2 separate regions of the Homo sapiens genome follow, and region 1 is linked to region 2. Evidence: promoter capture Hi-C in 16 types of primary human blood cells and fetal thymus (Javierre and others, 2016). All regions are on one chromosome and are shown on one strand. Each heading gives the region's core, a stretch centred on a gene start or on the middle of the fragment in contact. The rest is flanking DNA. Distances are from core to core; before and after follow the strand shown. Region 1 has its middle 100 kb from the start of SLC28A3-AS1. Region 2 holds the start of HNRNPK-AS1 (HNRNPK antisense RNA 1).

Region 1 (3,433 bases), core at 146-2,645, 200 kb before region 2:
AGACCCCAGTGAAAATCCTGGCTTTGCCCTTTAATAACTGCTTTGTCTGGTAAGTTTCATCTCTTCGCTCAAGTGGAGATGACACTGCCTTCTTCACAGGGCTGCAGCCACAATTACAGATGGCAGTGAAAAGGGCTTTGCTCATCAACTGGCCTAAAGGACTGTTTTTATGACAGATAAATCCCAAAACTTAATGTTACTTATTTCTAATCTCTTCTACTTTAGCCCTGGAGAAATGTTGCTGAAAAGGAACAAAACATCTGATTAGACTTTATTTCTTTTTTAAATCTTTCTTTCTCTATTTCAGACTTTAACTAATGGGAAAGTGGCCACAAGTATGTTGAACAGAAAAGGAGAGAGAACAAAGGGTTTCGATAACCCACAAACTATACCTGCTATTCTAGGTGGGCCGAATTTTGTCCAGCATCAAGTAGACAGATACTCAAAATGAAAAATATGCTTTATTTGTGGATGTCAGAAAAGATTTAATTAGAGGCAGCTTTAAAAACTGGGTGATTAGGGTCAAGCAATTTCATTGACACATTAAATAAGACTTACAGTTGAGTATCATGCCAAAGTTAACTACTTAGAACTACCAATATGTACGAAATCTGGGTAGATGAGACTGCTGGTATTACCCAATATCTATTCTCTTCTTCCACAGCAAGAGAATTTTTAGCTGAGCATATGAACTCCCAGAATAATAACTGCATTTCTTACCCTCTCTTGCAGATAGGTGTGGTCAAGTTATTAAGTTCTAGGCAAAGAAATGTAAGAGGAAGTGGTGTATGCAACATCACAGAAGTGTCCTTATAGGGAAGCTTCTTTTCCTCCTTTCTGCTGGCTGGAATGGGGACATGATGGCTTGAACTGGAGAAGCCATTCAATGTTCCCTGGTATTATGAATAATCACACCAGCCCCTAGACCATTTACTCAGACTTTCACATGAAAAAAATAAATTTCCATCTTTGTTCCACCACTCATTATTTTGGATTTTCTGTTGCTCACAGCTGATTCTAATCCTAATTCAGTCTGGGTGGCATGAATATACAATTGGCTGTGAATTGTTGAATTTCTTGATTTTTTTAATGCATCAAAATCAGGCATTAAAATGCATTGGCTTGGTTTTCTGTATTTGCTGTTTCTGCTATTAACAGAAGTCCTGCTTTATGAAGCAACAGGAACTGCCTTGGTTATTGTTTATATAAAATTTGCTTTGCATGTACAAAAATCTCATTTATCTTGCCATCTGATACTTGGTAGATTTGGGTGTTTAATGGATCTTTGTTACCAAATATTTTTTCACTCATTGTATACAGATGCTGCTCTTGGGCTATAGCCATCCTTCCTAACAAGCAAAAATCCTCAGAAGATATTTCCAGGTTTTTTTATTGAGGATGCGGGTGGTGATGGATAGCTCATCTCCCCGAAGTCATCCAGTAACCCAATTCTACAGACACTTTTTTTGTTGTTGTTGTTATTTGGATCAGGGCTCCATCTCCTCATTCCTCTCCTTTGTTTTATTTTTTGCTTTTTTGCAACAGAAACAGAGATCTGAATTACATTAATAAAATAGAAAAACAGAGTGTCTGCCTGTCCTCCCCCTCTCCCTCTCTTCCTTCCTTTTTTTTTTCCTCTCTCTCTCTCTCTCTTGACTTTGAGTGAAATATGCCTTTCTAAGACTAAGGCAAATGAACTTTTGGGAGGAAGAGGATCCAAATACATAAAACTTTGCATAATCTCTCAAGGGCTGGTGAGCCCCTGGGAGTCTTTTCAGGAACACTGAATTAAGGACCAGTGTCCTTGAGTTTATTCCAGAAAGCTGGAAGCGCTCCAGTTTACAGGTAACCTCAAGCTCTAATACAATTATCCCCCATTCACACTCTCCCTTTGTGATTTGTCAAATACCCGAATACCATTACTTTCCACTTCGGTTTAAATTGACTCACTTTTGAAACTTAAGCTTCACTAATATCCATGAAATCACAGATACGGTGTGCAATTTATATTTTTTCTAATACATGTTAAAACACATGGCCATTAAAATAAAAGTATGTGCCCATGTGCCATTGTTTTAGGTTGGGTTGAGACTAGGACTAGAGTACAAATCATCTATTTGAGAGGTGTTCCCAAGAAGCACCACTAGGGGGCCGGGGAAATAAGTGTGAAGAGAGGAAAGTCAATCCAGGGAGCATTACGGTCTTTGGGGTTGCATCCCTGCGGACCCCCTAAGAAAGCTGGAGAATGAGCCTCAGAGTTTTACCCACCATCTTCCCTTCGTCATTCTTTGAAAGCTACTCTCGTGGATGTGACCATTAACTCCTACCACTGCAGGCCCGCTGTGAAGGTGGGCAAGCCAGCTCCTGCAATCTGAGTTACAGACATTTGCAGTTAAGAAGCCGTCAGCACAGGCCGGGCCGGGCGCGGTGGCTCACGCCTGTAATCCCAACACTTTGGGAGGCCGAGGTGGGCGGATCACGAGGTCAAGAGATCAAGACCTTCCTGACCAACATGGTGAAACCCCGTCTCTACTAAAAATACAAAAAATTAGCTCGGCATGGTGGCGGGCGCCTGTAGTCCCAGCTACTCGAGAGGCTGAGGTAGGAGGATCGCTTGAACCCGGGAGGCGGAGATTGCAGTGAGCCGAGATTGCGCCACTGCACTCCAGCCTGGTGACAGAGCGAGACTCCGTCTCAAAAAACAAACAAACAAAAAACAGAAGCCATCAGCACAGCGAGGAACTGCAAGTGCCTAGGTAGTTTGCTTAGGGCACTAACCATATCTGCTTCAACTACCTAATACATCTTGCATCCCACCATTAGGATATATGCTGCATGTTGGACAATCCTATACAAAGGACCTGAAACCAATGTTTTTTAGCATAAGAGGACAATTTGGTCAGGTGGAGTAGGCATCTAGCTACATATTATAATTTTTTAATGTCAGAAAACGTCCCCTCCACAAATAGATCTCCTTTTGAAACTCCTCCCCCTCCACTTCATCCTTTCTTCTCAAAGTAAGGTGCTAAAGTCTTTTCGCGGGAAATGTTATCTGGGAAGAATAAGATGTTAAGTCATTAGCAGCCAACAGTTTAGATGTCATTAGCTTAACAAATGAGATAAAGCCGAAAGGCTCTAGCTAATATTTGTAATTATTTATATCACATTTGCCTTCCCCACTGAGAGCGTAAATCCCACAGGGGCAGAAGCCAAGGCTGTTCTGTTCACTGCCGCATTCCCAGAATTTAATGTTGTGCCTGGTACACAGCAGTCCTCAGTCAACATTTATTAAATGAATGGATAGAGGAATAAATAGAGAGTAAGAGATATAGCAGATTCTGACAGAAGAAGAGAAAAGGGGGAAAGAGCTTATACTTCTCTTAAATTGGCAGAAATTATAAGTGGAAGGCAGGTGGGACAGGAGGAAGACATC
Region 2 (2,899 bases), core at 400-2,899:
CTGCAGTGGGAATTAACTACATTTGCAAAGTGCTTTGCAGTCATTTTTATTATGGTGTTATTTGAATGTTAATAATAATTTTGTGGTAACAGCGACATGCTAAATGGCTGCAGTGTGGGTATGGTGTTGCAGGACCTGAAAATAAAATAGTTTTTTAAGGTGGTGCAGAATGTCCTTTTTGGGCCTGGCTATTGAGGATAATAAGCACATAACTGGTAAAGTTATTGAAATATAAATTCAGGTTGCTCACTGCAACAGTATATTATTGTTATGCTTATAGCAGATAAGTGTGTATTGGGGAATTGTTGATTTGAGACTAAAATTTTATAATTCTCCCTCCACAGTACCAACACTATAAAGGAAGTGACTTTGACTGCGAGTTGAGGCTGTTGATTCATCAGAGTCTAGCAGGAGGAATTATTGGGGTCAAAGGTGCTAAAATCAAAGAACTTCGAGAGGTAAAAAAAAAAAAATTCTGCCGTATTCTTTGCTGGAAAGTAAATTTTCATATAGACTTGTTTCTGTGAGCTTCTCTCGCTTCCCCTCTCAGTTCCCTCCAAAGATTGCTTATCGCAAATGACAAAAAATGTCTGGCACTGCTAGACATGTTATTTTGTCAAAATTTTTATACCATTGCAAAGCCCTGTGATAATTAATGAAGTTTTTATATTGTGGGGGGTTAATTGTTGAATTCAAATGCAATTTTCACTGAACCTAGGAAAGCTAATTTTCTTCTAATTATTATTATTTTTTTTTATGATCTTACTACAGAACACTCAAACCACCATCAAGCTTTTCCAGGAATGCTGTCCTCATTCCACTGACAGAGTTGTTCTTATTGGAGGAAAACCCGATAGGGTTGTAGAGTGCATAAAGATCATCCTTGATCTTATATCTGAGGTACTTCAGAACACTTTTTGTTTACATTTGATTTTATGAAACAAAGTGATAACCTTCTGCAAAAGTAGCTTCAGAGCATTTAGTCTAATAGTCTTTATTTGCCCTTTCCCTAGCAATTTTCTATCACCTGGCTTCAGCCATCACTTTAATTTAAAAATGGTTTTGAAAAAGTGGAGAGTGGTAATTTGTTGGTGGTATTTCTATAGCCTTTGAGCCTTTGAATGAATTTCCTATAGTGTTGCTTGTGTCTTTGTAACTATGCTGCAGGGCTTCCTATCTCAGGTGCCTCAGTATGGATTACAGGCTTGCCAAGACTGATCTCTTCAGCCCTTGTTGTGAAATGTGCATTGTAGTTTGTCATGTGTAAAATGGGAGGGCTTTGTGGTTTCTTACGATCTAAGTGTAAGAGCAAGCTATTACTTCTCCCTGTATAGGCAATAGAACTCACTTTTGTTTAGCATTTGCCAAAAGTATTGGATTTCTTTGGAATCTTTACTTTGCTACTTTTAGCGTTGACATAATTCCTGTTTCTGTCTCTAGTACCTCCTGATGGGGGAATGACTTACATTTTGTTTGATGATGATGTTAGAAGGATTGGTATGAAGCAGGACTCTTTTTCTTCAGTCTGTAAGTTTGTTCCATCTCTGTTTTTAGTCTCCCATCAAAGGACGTGCACAGCCTTATGATCCCAATTTTTACGATGAAACCTATGATTATGGTGGTTTTACAATGATGTTTGATGACCGTCGCGGACGCCCAGTGGGATTTCCCATGCGGGGAAGAGGTGGTTTTGACAGAATGCCTCCTGGTCGGGGTGGGCGTCCCATGCCTCCATCTAGAAGAGATTATGATGATATGAGCCCTCGTCGAGGACCACCTCCCCCTCCTCCCGGACGAGGCGGCCGGGGTGGTAGCAGAGCTCGGAATCTTCCTCTTCCTCCACCACCACCACCTAGAGGGGGGTAAGTTGTTTTTTTTGTTGTTGTTGTTTTTTCTTCCCCCATCTATGAATTATTAACCTGCAAGAGGCTGCACTTAGTGGTAGACAAGGTAGACTTTGATTTGATATGTGTGGCATGTAAGCACGTTTAGATTACAACAAGTACTATGCTTGCAGAGACCTCATGGCCTATGACAGAAGAGGGAGACCTGGAGACCGTTACGACGGCATGGTAAGAACTTTGGTTTATTACCAGTGTGTTGGGTATGTGAGGGTTGTCACAATGTAGTTCACGTTTTGTTGAAGGTTATAGTGATTAAAAAGTTTTTCTTACAAGTAAATTTTGTTTGGATTACTAGTTAAATAATTCTGTTATTTGCTGCTGGAGGATTACGACTTTATTGAGCTTTGTTCCCCTCGATTACAAAATTGCTGCCTATATATGTACCCTCTTTTGTTTTAATGTAACATGCAAATTAGGCATATTAAAAACAGCTCTATAACAAAATACAATGCGGGTTCATGTTAATGTTTTTATCTCTAACAGGTTGGTTTCAGTGCTGATGAAACTTGGGACTCTGCAATAGATACATGGAGCCCATCAGAATGGCAGATGGCTTATGAACCACAGGTTGAGTATCATAGTTGTTCGTGTGTATATCAGTGATAATTTAAGATGCTTACCTGCTCTCCAGTAAGTTTTTTATTCCCCTGAGGATACTTACTGAAAATAGGATACAGGAGGACTTTGGTTTCCTGAAGAGGGATTTTATGAGATTAAAATACTTGAATAGTGAAGCTGGGTGCAGTGGTGCTCACTCATAATCCCAACTACAAAAGAGTCTGAGGCAGGAGGATCACTTGAGCCCGAGAGTTTGAGACCAGCCTGGGCAACATAGCAAGACTCCATTTTATTAAATGAATTTTTTTAAAGTACCGGTAGTAATTACAACGGCAAAGTAATTTTCTATTTTTTTCTTTCTGTTTTTAGGGTGGCTCCGGATATGGTAAGTTCTCTCCTTTGTGAAGTCAAACATTAATTTCATACTTTTTAAATGA

Evidence for each region. The method cuts DNA at HindIII sites, captures the fragments that hold promoters and counts their contacts. A CHiCAGO score of 5 or more calls a contact.
Region 1: a contact is called between a fragment that was not itself captured here and the fragment with the promoter of HNRNPK-AS1 in region 2, in 5 of 17 cell types (naive CD4 T cells, total CD8 T cells, M1 macrophages and 2 more). The highest score is 7.8, in naive CD4 T cells.

The regions. Positions count from the first base shown.
Region 1 is chr9:84,171,997-84,175,429 of GRCh38, reverse strand. No RefSeq gene overlaps it. Among named protein-coding and RNA genes, the nearest start is that of SLC28A3-AS1, 100 kb to the left of the region's middle. RefSeq lists an enhancer at 1,942-2,451. The HindIII fragment of the contact is 1,143 bases long and covers 824-1,966 here.
Region 2 is chr9:83,970,845-83,973,743 of GRCh38, reverse strand. HNRNPK-AS1 (HNRNPK antisense RNA 1) reads right to left here and starts at 1,649. Exons shown (of 2, transcript NR_186535.1): 1 at 1,467-1,649. HNRNPK (heterogeneous nuclear ribonucleoprotein K) reads left to right here. Exons shown (of 17, transcript NM_031263.4): 9 at 345-458; 10 at 772-900; 11 at 1,555-1,862; 12 at 2,018-2,072; 13 at 2,388-2,471; 14 at 2,832-2,847. The HindIII fragment of the contact is 2,844 bases long and covers 795-2,899 here.